Linked DNA regions of Homo sapiens: regions 1 and 3 are each linked to region 2. The links are contacts of gene promoters, found by promoter capture Hi-C in blood cells and fetal thymus (Javierre and others, 2016). All regions are on one chromosome and are shown on one strand. Each heading gives the region's core, a stretch centred on a gene start or on the middle of the fragment in contact. The rest is flanking DNA. Distances are from core to core; before and after follow the strand shown.

Region 1 (5,040 bases), core at 381-2,880, 270 kb after region 2:
CCTTTATTTTCTGGTTTTAACAATGTCTTAAATTATATGCTACCACTTACCTCACCAAGACATTTAGATTTATTAATCAAAGGAAATAAAGCTTGGGTAATGTAAGTAATTTTCATTTGAAATTATTTAACCAGGACATCAATGTTGATATTGTTGTACTTTGAATTATAACAATATCTAGAAATAAATTATTTTATTTAATCCACACTAAGAATCTTGTATATTATTATGCCACTGTACAGATTGAGAAACTGAGCCTCAGAGAGCTTGATTTGTGCCCTAAATGACAAAGCTCAAGTGGAACCCAGACCATAGTTCCACTGCTCTCTGCAGTGTTTACATCCGGACTAAAATTTATTTGGATTTAATTTCAGTTCACTGTTTTAAGTATGTTAAGGATATAAGTGATACATTTTAAAGTTAATCCAGTTAATATGCCCACTCAAATATTTGCATATTTCCTGGCCTCTGTTAACGAAAGGGATGCAGATATTTCAAGTATGATTGTTTGAATCCACCACATTACTTTAGTTGTTTTAACCCAAGAATACAAAAGTTAAGTCAGTCCTTTAAAAGGATTTTATTTGTAATATTCAAAATGTATTTTAAAATGTAAAATGTACTTGAAAGAATACTCCCAAAATATTTTCAATTTCCAATACTGTTTATTCATTTGACATTACATAATCTGAAAATGTTCCTTTTGTTTAAGCAACTATTTCAAAAAGATGAACAATTATTTATGTCACTTTGGATACTTCACACATAAGAGTGGGCCTATGATGATAACTTTAGAACTCAAAGGATAAAATTAGGAAAGAAAGATAAAAAGCCTTTGTAAAAGTTGCTGCTAACCAACAAATTCTGGAAAGGTAGTTTTTAGTTTTAGCTCTCAGCAAAATCCCTTCTGTGTTTCCATTTCCTCAACTTGAGAATAGTCATAATATAAACTATAAACAGAAAAATTATAATGTGTGGGTTTTAAATAGAATCATAACCAGAACTTAAACAAATGGTTGTAAAATATTTTGAGATTCTTGAAGATGGATGATTGGAAGGTATTTCTTAATGTTCACATTTTGTTGGTATCATATAACGTTGTATAGTTTAAATGTTTTTCAGTGATCATATCTATTAGGAACAAAAATTTAGAAATATTAACAGAATAAAAGCAATTAGAAAATACTTTTAGCCAGAATTATATCTTTTCCTTTTTTATTTTATTTTATTTTATTTATTTATTTATTTATTTTGAGATGGAGTCTCCCTCTGTTGCCCAGGCTGGAGTGCAATAGCTCAATCTTGGCTCACTGCAACCTCCGCCTTCTGGGTTCAAGTGACTCTCCTGCCTCAGCCTCTTGAGTAGCTGGGATTGCAGGCACCTGCCACCACACCTGGCTAATTTTTGTATTTTTGTCGAAACGGGCTTTCGCCATGTTGATCAGGAGTTAAACTCCTGACCTCAGGTGATCCGCCCACCTAGGCCTCCCAAAAGTGCTGGGATTACAGGTGTGAGCCACTGCGCCCGGCCAGAATTACATCTCTTCTGTATTTATAAGAAAATACTATTTTCATTGTGTTTATGTCTGGGTATTTATAGTTATTGCATCTCAGGTTTTAATAGTTACTTATCTGGAGAGTTAAAAATTTTGAATTTATACTTTCAGTCTTCTTTAAGGAAGCATTTTCTAGAATAAACAATGTATAAATTAGCTTAATCTTTTTTTGTTTGTTAAATTCACTTTCCCTACATGGTCCCTTTTGGAAGGAGGCAGGGTTTAAATCATTAAAATCTTAAAACCCAAGGCCCGGCAAAGTGACTCACACCTGTAATCCCAGCACTTTGGGAGGCCAAGGCAGGAGGATCGCTTGAGGCCAGGAGTTTAAGACCAGCCTGGGCAACACAGTGAGACCCCATTTCTATTTAAAAAAAAAAAAAGAAACTTAACACCCAAAGTTTTTGTTTACTCAGGTTCATTACAGAAGCATTCACCGAGGCTGGGTGCAATGGCTCACGCCTGTAATCCCAACACTTTGGAAGGCCCAAGGCGGGCAGATCACTTGAGGTCAGGATTTGAGACCAGCCTGACCAACATGGTGAAACCCTAAAACTCTCTACTGAAAATACAAAAATTAGCCAGGCATGGTGGCAGGTGCCTGTAATCCCAGTTACTTGGGAGGCTAAGGCAGGAGAATCGCTTCAACCCGGGAGGCAGAGGTTGCAGTGAGCCGAGATCTCGCCACTCTACTCCAGTCTGGGCAACAGAGCCAGACTCTTGTCTCAAAAAAAAAAAAAAAAAAAAAAAAAGATACTGTATAAAATGTCCTCAAATAGGAGGAAAAAGACCTTCAGTTTTGGTTTTAGATTTGTTACATATTGGCTGAGTGACTTGCAGCCTCAGTTTCCTTGTTTTTAAAGTAGAGATAATACTCATGTCACAAGGTTTACTGGATATGATAATATATGTGAAATTTATTTGAATAGTGTAAAATTCCATATAAATATACATTAACTTTTTTCAGAGATTGGGGACATTAAGACTGAAATTTATTTATTTATTTTTGAGACAGAGTCTCGCTCTGTCGCCCAGGATGGAGTACAGTGGTGCTATCTTGGCTCACTGCAAGCTCCGCCTCCCGGGTTCATGCCATTCTCCTGCCTCAGCCTCCCAAGTAGCTGGGACTACAGGCGCCCATCACCACCACAGCTGGCTAATTTTTTGTATTTTTAGTAGAGACAGGGTTTAGCCAGGATGGTCTCATCTCCTGACCTCGTGATCCGCCCACCTCGGCCTCCCAAAGTGCTGGGATTACAGGCTTGAGCCACCGCGCCTGGCCCCAAGACTGAATTTTATATATAATGTATTAAAAATAACATTGCTAGTATCCACATAATGCTTATCTATTCAAAAAATTACAAAAAAACTACAATAATTATAGGTATTTTATACCACAGACCAGCAACAAGGAGCCAGAGCTGCCCGATACCTGTTTTGTAAATAAAGTTTTATTGCAATGCAGCCAAACCCATTTGTTTATTGTCTATGGTTGATTTAGTGCTGCAGCATTAGAGTTGAAGAGTTTTGACAGCAACCTTAATGGCCAGCTAAGCCTAAAATATTTACTATTTGGCCTTTTGCAGAACAAGTTTGCCAATCCCTGGTATAAAGCAAGCTTAAGTCACTAAGTCTGCATTTGAATGTAATTCTCCCAACTCTTACATCTGTGTTATTTCCGCTTTCTTATTTTTCTCATATTCTACAACAAATGAAGTTTTGATGTGTCTGATAAACATTTCTTAAAACTTTCAGAGTGAAGACAATGTAGACCTAAGGCAGACCTATACTCCATTTTCTTCAACAGAATATTCAAGTTCTGTAGATTCTTCACTTTTCTGTGCACCATGGTCTACTTATGGAGATGACATTAAACAACCTTCTAATTCTCAGATCAGTATAAAGAACAGGTAAATTAATTCATTTCTCAAGGTAATTGAGGTATTTTTAAATTTAATTACATAGGAACTGAGGTTATTTGCTCTCTGTTCCCTACATTATCATTTTACTATTGTGGCATTTTGTGTTTTTCAAACTTTTAGGAAAGTGTAAACTGGGCAGTTATTTGTGTATAGTTTTTACGGTGTTTTGCTTTGTTTTGTTTTGTTGAGACAGGGTCTCGCTCTGTCACCCAGTCTGGAGTGCAGTGGCGAGATCATGGCTCACTACAACTTTGAACTCCTGGGCTCAAGCCATACTCCTGCCTCAGCCTCCACAGTAGCTGGGACTACAGGTATGCACCACGGTGGTCAGCTAACTTTAAAAAAATTTGTTGCCTTTTCTTTTTAAGAAACGAGGTCTCACTTTGTTGCCTAGGCTGGTCTTGAACTCCTGGCCTCAAACCATCCTCCCACCTTGGCCTCCCAAAGTGCTGGAATTACAGACATGAGCCTCTGCCCAGCTAGGTTATTACTTAAAAAAATTCATTAGTGGGAACATTTAGTGCATAAATCTTAAGTTCTTCTTTCTAAAGATGACTTATATGAATGAGTTAAAACTTTTAGATGTTTTTGTCATCCAGTTCTAAATTTTCCATTTTTTTCCTTCACAACTCTACAACAAACAGGGTTTTATCAAACATAAGATATTTTAAATTATTTTTCTGTTCAATTCCACAAATAATAAGGGCCCCCTGTACATCAGATGCTTTTCTATGGGGGATACCAGAATTTAAACATGGCAAATATTATCCTTGCCTTTATAATCTTGATGATGATGATGATGATGATGATGATGATGATGATGACGATAACTAGGATATTATGGGAGCCTATTGCAAAGAGGAGCCCTAAGGGAGTGACATCTATCTTTAATTATATATGGGAGCTATTTATAGAGGCTGATGCCTCATTAGTCTAACCAGGAAATAGTTATTTGTATTTATTAGAAAAGTGTTAAAAAATTAAAATTCTTGGCAAATTCTCTAAAATAATTTTATTAGAAAGTCTACGTAATACATAATTCTACAAAAAACAAAAATATTTTTAAAGTTGATACATGCTATTGAAAAAATTCAAGCCTATTCTCGCTTTTGGCTAAGATCAAGTGAAAAAATTCAAACTTTTCAGAAATATATATCAAGAAAAGTGAAAGTCTGTCTTAACCTTCTCCCCCCGCCACCCAATAACAGCTGCTAGCAGTTTGGTATATATTACATTGAATTTTTTTTAGATATATACTAATACATAATTACACAAAAAAGCTTTTATATTGAACTTTTATGAGATAACACATGTAGTAGAAAAGGTATTGGACTTACAGGGAGACTATTTAGCAAGTATGTAGTAGTTTGGCAAGTCATATACCCTTGCAAAATACAAGTTTCTTAATATCTCAAATGATCATTCATTTATTCAACAGATAATAACGAATGATTACTAATGCTTACCTTTCCAATGTTATGAAGATCAATTAAATATGAGTGTTATGCAAATATAAGGTATTTTATTTCAAAAATATCCCAACACTATGAAATGTTGAAATA
Region 2 (4,670 bases), core at 665-3,164:
GAATCGCTTGAACCCGGGAGGCAGAAGTTGCGGTGAGCCAGTGATTGTGCCATTGCACTCCAGCCTGGGCAACAAGAGCGAAACCCCATCTCAAAAAAAAAAAAAAAAAAAAAAAAAAAAGAAGAAGAAGAAAAAAAGAATTGTCAGAGTTGATGAAAGAGGGCTGGACCCTTATCAAATGCCTCCCCCACACCTGCCTCCACTCTCCCCACTCACCCACTTCTCATTGATCAGACACTGGATGTGGGCCATCTTGGGAGGGGACTTGGAGTGAACTGGCTCTCTTCAGCAGAGGAAATCCCCTAAGTGGCTGACACTTGAAGGCTATCTGCCATTGCCACCCATTGCCACTCCCTGAAGCTGGTGGGCACAGTGTCTCTCACAATAGTAGCTCAGGGTACACGCTATGAAGAGGAGGAGCCAAGACTCTAATCTTGGCACTCTTGATTCTGAAGCCTGATCAATACTAATCATTAATGACCTATTGCTTCTTTTCAAATATTTATAATGTTGATGGAGATGAGGGAAATGGAACAGAAATGCAAGGTGCGGGAGGGTAGACAACTTTAGTTCTGCAAATCAATTTAGGACATGTGCTCCTCTCCACATTTCCTTTCTTTTTTTTTTTTTTTTTTTTTTGAGACAGAGTTTCGCTCTCGTTGCCCAGGCTGGAGTGCAATGGCATGATCTCGGCTCACCACAACCTCTGCCTCTCAGGTTCAAACGATTCTCCTGCCTCAGCCTCCCGAGTAGCTGGGATTACAAGCATGCGGCACCACGCCCGGCTAATTTTTTTTTTTTTGAGACGGAGTGTCACTCTGTCACCCAGGCTGGAGTGCAGTGGCATGATCTCAGCTCACTGCAACCTCCACCTCCCGGGTTCAAGTGATTCTCCTACCTCAGCCTCCCGAGTAGCTGGGACTACAGGAGTGTGCCACCACGCTCAGCTAATTTTTGTATTTTTAATAGAGACAGGGTTTCACCATATTGGCCAGGCTGGTCTTGAACTCCTGACCTCATGATCTGCCCACCTCTGCCTCCCAAAGTGCTGGGATTGCAGGTGTGAGCCACTGTGCCTGGTCTCTTTTTTTTTTTTTTTTTTGTATTTTTAGTAGAGACGGGGTTTCTCCATGTTGGTCAGGCTGGTCTCGAATTCTCGACCTCAGGTGATCTGCCCGCCTCGGCCTCCCAAAGTGCTGGGATTACAGGCATGAGCCACCGCGCCCGGCCTCCTCTCTGCATTTCAAGGTGTTGAGGGTGGAGTGGTTCATACAACTGACCCTTGGGGAAAAAATAAAGCATCAACTCTTGTCTTCCCTTTGTTCTTGCTGTAGTTTTCAGTGCCCATCAGCCCACATGTGCCCTGCCCTTATACCTTCACCTGAGCCAGTCCCCTGGACCCCAACATTCTTGACAAGAAATCAACCTGAATAGGCCCCACAAGTCACCTTGCTCAACTGCTATCGCAAATGGGAAACTCGAAGCCCCCAGAAGCAGTGATGGGGAGGGGTCCTGCTCTCTCCCAATACCCCAACTTCCCTTACGGCTCACCTCCCATGGCTGTCCTTGTGGAAGTCCAGTGAAAATCCAAACTGGCTGCCATTGGGGCCTGCATAGAAGGTGAGCTGCACTGGGTCCAGGTTCAAGGCCCAGGCTGGAGGGGCAGCACAAGGTCCCAAGAGCAGCAGCACCCACTCCAGAAGCCAGAGGGCTTGCAGTGGACACAAAGCTCTGGCCATCTTCCTTCTTCCACAACCTCCCAGGCAGGAATGGGCCAGCTCCTCCTCCTTCCCTTCAGATTCCTCCACAGGAAGTCTTTTCTTATCAAACTGGAACCCCAAGTAACTTGCTGAGCAACGGGCAGAGCAAAGGGCTATAGCCCCTGGACTCATGGTGGCTAGAATTGCCAGGAAGTGGGTGAGGCCACCCAGAGGGTGGATGCTCATGGCTGAAAGCCATGACTCCTCCCCTTTCCTGAGAATAGTTTATTACCATGTCCTATTGGTTCTGCCTATCAATGATGTCTCTTGAATCTTTACCCCATCTCTACTACCACCGTGCTAGTCCAAGCCACCATCACTTTCTGCTTGGGATAGCGTGATTGTGAACTGGTCCATACTTGTCTACTCTAGCCTACAGTTCTAATCTCCTCCCTTCCCCCATCTGGCTGTACAGCTGTGGTGCTTTGTGACTTGGCCACAGGTCGGGGAAGGAGAAGGAAGCTGCTGCCCCCGATAAAACCTGAGGCTTCTGTATCTTTTTGGATATGGCATTTACCCACTTCCTCCTTCTAGGACCTTGGGCGGCCTCAACCAGCCATATTGGTGCAGCAGCTTCCTCACTCCTCCTCCGTCTTGAGCCAAGCTTTAGTGTGGCCACAGCAGTGCAGTCAGTGCTGGGGACAGGGTGGTGAATGGACCTTGGTCTAGGTGGCAAGGAGATTGGGGATAAAGTGGAGTTATTCCAGGGAATTTTGACTCACAGTTTCTGAGATTATGCATTAGCTGTTCAGTTGAAGGTAGGCCCTCAATCCTTTTTGGGTGATGGAGCTCTTTAACCATTAAGACTTGATTCTGGTTGGGGGCTTTGCCTAGGGGAGCCTTCCCTGACTCCTCAGGCTGGCCGCGTGGGCTAACACACGTAGGCACAGCATTGAGCACACTGTTTACTCTTGGTCCGTTCACAGGATTGTGTAAATGAGTCCCTTGGGAGCAAGGCTCCTTGCTACAGCCCTAGAGACTACCCAAGAGTCCAATGTGTAGTACGTGTATTGCTGAAAGACTGGATGGAAACACACACTAAGGATGGAAGATGCAAACATAGGGTGACAAAGTGAAGGGATGAGTTTTGAGCAGAAAGGCAAAGTCATTTTCTCTCGGTAAGCGGAAGAGGAGGAGTGCCAAGTCTTACTGGCACTCATGCCTTCCCAAAAAAGCAGGTTCTCAGGAAGATTTAAGAGGTCCGCTAGGGGTAACCATAGCCACATTTTCCTTTTGATTTCTATTTTCTGATCAAACTTAACCATTGCCGTATCCTGCTCAACCACCCTGTACCATTTTGAAGTCCCCTCGTAATTTACTACCTCAGCCTAGAGTTAAGAATCTTATCCTTTATAGGACAGGAAGCTAAAAGCCTGAACTTTGGTCTGGGCCTTCTTCATTGCTGAGTTCCCAGTGTCAAGTACATGGGAGGCGTGTAATTAATGTATTTGCTTGAACGAATACTTAACCCAGTCCTCTACTTACCTTCTATCCTCCCACTGTCCTCAGGTGAGTGATTGCTGTATTACTGGTGTATTCTGTGAGGCCAAATATGAACTTACATTTCACTCAAGTTTTCAATAAGTATTTACTCTGTTCAAGGCACTGTGTTGATAAAGGATACAAAGATAACCATTAGGCCAGGTATAGTGGCTCATGCCTGTAATCCCAGCACTTTGGGAGGCTGAGGCAGGAGGATGGCTTGAGCTCAGGCATTTAAGACCAGCCTAGGCAATACAGTGAGACCTCGTCTCTATTTTAAAATTATAAAAAATAAAATATTTTAAAAACTCCAAAGATAGCCATCAAGGAGACTTAACAAACAGCCCAGAAAGAGTTAAGACATGAACACACATAACTGCAGCAGAGAGACAGTCAAGCATGCCTTGAAAAATACACAGATTATCAAAGTCGTATATCATTGTTACTCATAACAACCCTAGGAAATAAGTACTATTATGCCCATTTTATAAACACAAAACTGTGGCACAAGAGTTTTAGGTAAATTGCCCATGTTTACGCAGCCAACAGATGGCAAAACTAAGATTCAAACATGGGTTGCACTTGAACTCATGTTCAAGTTGCCTTTTGTCAGAGAATGAAAGGGTTTTTAGGCATAGAGAATACATGAGAGCAGCAAAGGAACACAGAGGTAGGGAAGGACAAGTAGTTGACTCAGCATAGCAGAATGCTTAAAGGGTTGGACTGAGGCGCAAGGGGGTAAAGCTTGGGGATTCAAATTACTGGAGGTCCTTGAATGCCATATTAAGGAATCTGAACTTTAATCCATGGGGGATGGAAAATCATAAAGATTTTAGCCGGGCATGGTGGCTCATGCCTGTAATCCCAGCACTTTGGGAGGCCCAGGCGAGTGGACCACAAGGTCAGGAGTTTGAGACCAGCCTGGCCAACCTAGTGAAACCCCGTCTCTACTAAAAATACAAAAATTAGCTGGGCGTGGTGGTGTGTGTCTGTAATCCCAGCTACTTGGGAGGCTGAGGCAAAAGAATTGCTTGAACCTGTGAGGCGGAGGTGGCAGTGAGCTAAGATCATGCCACTGCACTCCAGCCTGGGCGACAGAGTGAGACTCCATCAAAAAAGAAAAAAAGAAAGAAAGAAAAGAAAAATAAAATTATAAAGATTTTTTACACCAGGTTTGGTGGCTCATGCCTGTAACCCTAGCACTTTGGGAGGCCAAGATGAGGATTGCTTGAAGCCAGGTGTTTGGGACCAGCCTGGGCAACATAGTGAGACCCTGTCTCTACAAAAAAATTAAAATTAGCCAGGCACGGTAGTGCACACCTGTAGTTCCAGCTACTGAGGAGGCCGAGGCAGGAGAATCACTTGAGCCCACGAGTTTTAGGTTACAGTGCACTACGATTTTGCCACTCCACTCCAGCCTGGGCAAGA
Region 3 (4,567 bases), core at 2,061-4,560, 290 kb before region 2:
GACTTCGACAAGAGGAATTCCTGGAGCCTCAGCTTTACCTCAGTGCTGGCAATGGCACCTGCAGGACAGGGCACAACTGACCTGGCTGCTTGGGGCCAGACCCCCCATGGCAGGGGCAGGCATCACGGGCGGGGCCCTACGAGGTCCCAGGAGGCCCTGCCTTACTCTCTTTGCTCTTCTCCTTGTTCCGCAGGATGAGCAGCTGCTGCTCCAGCCGCTGCTTCTCCAGCTCTTCCTGCCGCTGCTGCTCCCGCTGCCGCTGCTGCTCCAGCTCCTGCTGCCGCTTGGCTGCCAGCATCTCCTGCTGCTGCTTGGCTGCCAGCATCTCCTGCTGCTGCTGCAGGGGCATGGGAACGGAGGCACAAGTGAGCCAGGCCCGGGCGGGGATCGGAGGTCTGGGCGGCCCCCCGCACCCCCCTCGCTCACCTTGAGGTGCTTCTGCAGCTGGACCTCATGCTGCCTTGTCAGGTGGTCATGCTGTTTCTGGAACTCAGCGAACAGGAGCTGCTTCTGCAGCTGCTGCTGCTGCTTGAGCGCCAGGAGCTCCTGCTGCAGTTGCTGCTCCCGCAGTGTGGGGTCCACAGAGCCCACCAGAGCCCCCCGTAGCTCCACAGGGCTGGGGCTGCCTCCACCCCCACCCCCCATGGAACTGGGCATGGCTCTTGGCAGCACCGGCTTCACCTCCACTGTGGGCAGAAGAGACAGGAAGGAGTTAGTGGGCCCAGCCCCAGACTCCAGTCATGCCTGAGGCCCAAAGGCTACCACGCAGGATTCTAGGAGACCCAAAGAGAACAGAGACAGAGAGGAAGTCAAATCCCTCTGCTCCATGGATGCAACATTTTACCTTAATTAAATGAGGCTGAAGCCATGAACTTCAATAGGAAAATACAGGCTGAGCACGGTGGCTCACACCTGTAATCTCAGGTTAGTTTGGGAGGCTGAGGCAGGCAGATCACCTGAGGCCAGGAGTTTGAGACCAGCCTGGTCAACATGATGAAACCCCCTCACTACTAAAAATACAAAAATTATTTGGGCGTGATGGTGCACACCTGTAATCCCAGCCACTCAGATGGCTGAGGCATGGGAATCTCTTGAACCCCGGGAGGCGGAGGTTGCAGTGAGCCAAGATCATGCAACTGCACTCTAGCCTGGGTGACAGAGCAAGACTGTCTCCAGAAAAAAAAAAAACAAAAAACAAAAAGGGGGAGGCCGGGCGCGGTGGCTCTTGCCTGTAATCCCAGCACTTTGGGAGGCTGAGGCGGGTAGATCACGAGGTCAGGAGATCAAGACCATCCTGACTAACATGGTGAAATCCTGTCTCTACTAAAAACAAAAAAAATTAGCTGGGCGTGGTGGCACACGCCTGTAGTCCCAGCTACTCAGGAGGCTGAGGCAGGAGAATCGCTTGAACCCTGGAGGTGGAGGTTGCAGTGAGCCAAGATCGCACCACTGCACTCCAGCCTGGGCGACAGAGCGAGCCTCCATCTCAAAAAAATAAAGAAAATGTGCATAAGCATGAAGCTGTACCTGACAGATTGTGACTACTCGACGCATTTTATGTATCTGTGTGTGTGTGTGTATATATATGTGTGTACGTATGTGTGTGTATATATATATATACACACACACATACATATGTGTGTGTATTTATCTCTCTACCTATATATATATCAGAGACAAGGTCTTGCTCTGTCGCCCAGGCTGGAATGCAATGGCATGATCGTGGCTCATGACAGCCTCGACCTCAAGCAACCCTCCCACCTCAGCTTCCCAAGTAGCAGGGATTACAGGAGCATGCCAATGCACCAGGCTAATTTTTAATTTTTTAGTAGAGACAGGGTCTCACTATGTTGCCCAGGCTGAATTAAACTCCTAGGCTCAAGCGATCCTCCCACCTCAGCCTCCCAAAGTGCTGGGATTATAGGCGTGAGCCACTGCCCAGCCTTCAACACATAATATTATCATTGATAGTCAACATCTCTGGGCATTTTACAATGACTCATTTAAATATCACAGTTACCCTATGACTTAGATGCTATTATTACCCCATTTTACTGATGAGGAAACTGAGGTTTAGAGAAGTTTAAGTAGCAACCAGACACAGCTAGGTGATCCAATAACTAGAATATGAGTCCAAATCCTAAGCTTTTAACCACTGTGCCCGCTCCCATTTCTCAACACCGTGCCCCATGCAAAGCCTCATACTAGAAGAGAAACTGAGGCACAGAGGTTGGTTCTAGGACTGACAGTGCCCTTGGTAACCCCAGGAGAGGCTGGTGGAGACCTTCTGGATATCTCTACCCTCTGTCCCCTTCTGGGGCCTCATCCCTATCTGGGGCAGACTGGGCAGGAGGGAGAGGCTGTGGGAATGGGGGTGGGGTGGGAACAGGAGGCCTCGGGGAAAGGGGGTGCAGGGCTGCACCAAGCCAGGGACAGGAGGGGGCTGGGAGTCAAGACTCGCTTCCTTTGCTGGATTATCTCCTTTCAACAGTTTTATTGTAATTACCCTGAAAATGCCGCTATATATAGAGTGAGCCAAACAGCAGCTGTGCCTGGGGGGAGGGGGAATAAGAGGATGGGCGGGCAGGCAGCAGGGAGGAGGTGGGAGGAGGAGACAGGAAAGGAAAGGGAATCAGACAGGAAGAAGGGTAACAGCAGGGGGAGGGCAGGAGCTTCGGCAGAGATCTCAGAACTCTGGTCTTACGGAGAACCGGCTGGGGAGAGGAAGGCTGCTGGGGAGGGGAAGGCAGTGGAGGGCCTGCTGGGTTCCAAGACCTTGGGTCCAGTCCCCACATGGACAATGGGCCGAGTGGCTCAGGGAGTGCACGAAGTTCCAATGGGCTTATGGGAGGGCTAGGTCTCCACTTCTTTGTACCTACACACAGTTCTCAGGTCACTGCATGTCACTCCTCACCACTGCCCTGTGGTTGCCAGGACAACTGGGCAAACACCACACCAGCAGGGAGCCCCAAGCCCAGCCCAAGCCCCACAAAGTCTCCAGCCAGGAAGGGGAAGGCAGGATACCACTGCCTGGGAAGGCGGAAGTGAGAGAGGCAGGCCAACCCATTCCTGTTTCTCTTCTACTTCTTTCTCCAAAGAAAGCCCTCACTCTCCTCGCTACAGCCCAGGGAGGTCACGAGGGGCTGGGAAGACTCCTGTGGCAAAGTGGCCCACTCCAGCCCAGGCCTGAGAAAAAAGGACCCCGAAATCCTTCTGGCTACCAGTATCTTCTGCCTTCATGAGCTGGCCTCTCTCCAGACCACCCCCCAGCATTAAGAGGCGAGAGAGGGAAAAAAAAAACAAAAAACAAGTTTTGGTTTTTTTTTGTTTTTTTTTTTTTTGGAGATGGAGTTTTGCTCTTGTCATCCAGGCTGGAGTGCAGTGGCACAATCTCGGCTCACTGCAACCTCTGCCTCCTGGGTTCAAGCAGTTTTCCTGCCTCAGCCCCGCAAGTAGCTGGGATTACAGGCACCCGCCACCACGCTCAGCTAATTTTTTTGTATTTTTAGTAGACACAAGGTTTCACCATGTTGGCCAGGCTGGTCTCAAACTCTTGACCTCAGGTGATCCGCTCGCCTCGGCCTCCCAAAGGGCTGGGATTACAGGCATGAGCCACTGCCCCTGGCCTTTTTTTTAGATGGAGTCTCACTGCAACCTCCGCCTCCTGGGTTCAAGCAATTCTCCTGCCTCAGCCTCCCAAGCAGCTGGGATTACAGGCGCCCACCACCAGGCCTAGCTAATTTTTGTATTTTTAGTAGAAACGGGGTTTCACCATGTAGGTCAGGCTGGTCTCGAACTCCTGACCTCAGGTGATCCACCCGCCTCGGCCTCCCAAAGTGCTGGGATTACAGGCATGAGTGACCACACCCAGCCGAACAATTTTTAAAGAGAAGAGAGGGAGGTGGGAGGTAGGAGGTGGCAAAGGGTGGGCTAAGAGAGGCCCCCACACCTGTTTAGATGGGTCTGGATCTCTCCAGAGAACCTAGCACTGAATGGGTGTCACCAAGGCAGGAGCAAGGCCTGCTGGAGGCCGAGGCCAAGGCCATGCCACCCACATGCCTGGAGTATGGCCTCTGGAACCCCCTGCAGGCAGGGTGGGGTGGGAGAAGGTAAAAGCTCAGCATGATGTAGCAGTCCCCACCAGCCTCTTCTCCCCCAGGCATGGTTGGGAACATTCCTCTGTGGTTTTCCCGCCAGCCATACTGACGACTCTGTGGCCACAAGGCCAGAGCCACATGTGCAGAAGTGGCCAGATGTGGCCAGAGGGTGGGGTTACACATACTCATCTTCATTCCCAACCCATGTCCTGCCCCAGCACCAGGAGAAAGGGTCCTTGGAAACTGCAGAAGGCCTTCCTGGAGGTAACTAGCCACAGCCCACGATGGTGGCAAGGAAATGGCAGCCAGCTCAGGTCTCCCCAGCCCGTGAAGTGCTCAGCAAGGCCCTGAGCTGGCCGGAGGGTTATCTGTTCTTAGTCAAGCTTGGCTTGGCCCGTGGCACTCTGATCACTCAGCCAAGCAATGGACAGCCGTCAACCTGCTGCTCCCGGCAATGCCGGGGTTGTAGG

The links. Contacts are between HindIII fragments. The CHiCAGO score rates a contact against its expected background, and 5 or more counts as called.
Region 1: a fragment that was not itself captured here is called in contact with the fragment with the promoter of ITGA2B in region 2 in 1 of 17 cell types (endothelial precursors); the score reaches 5.6 in endothelial precursors.
Region 3: a fragment that was not itself captured here is called in contact with the fragment with the promoter of ITGA2B in region 2 in 1 of 17 cell types (erythroblasts); the score reaches 5.1 in erythroblasts.

The regions. Positions count from the first base shown.
Region 1 is chr17:44,659,006-44,664,045 of GRCh38, forward strand. It overlaps MEIOC (meiosis specific with coiled-coil domain), which reads left to right. Exons shown (of 8, transcript NM_001145080.3): 3 at 3,312-3,466. Among named protein-coding and RNA genes, the nearest start is that of MEIOC, 5.1 kb to the left of the region's middle. The HindIII fragment of the contact is 3,083 bases long and covers 90-3,172 here.
Region 2 is chr17:44,387,735-44,392,404 of GRCh38, forward strand. It overlaps ITGA2B (integrin subunit alpha 2b), which reads right to left and starts at 1,915. Exons shown (of 30, transcript NM_000419.5): 1 at 1,552-1,915. The coding sequence starts at 1,739. RefSeq lists an enhancer at 2,072-2,131. The HindIII fragment of the contact is 14,706 bases long and covers 1-2,362 here.
Region 3 is chr17:44,093,149-44,097,715 of GRCh38, forward strand. HDAC5 (histone deacetylase 5) reads right to left here. Exons shown (of 27, transcript NM_005474.5): 4 at 427-686; 5 at 166-337; 6 at 1-58. Among named protein-coding and RNA genes, the nearest start is that of G6PC3, 25 kb to the left of the region's middle. RefSeq lists an enhancer at 2,212-2,972. The HindIII fragment of the contact is 2,335 bases long and covers 2,144-4,478 here.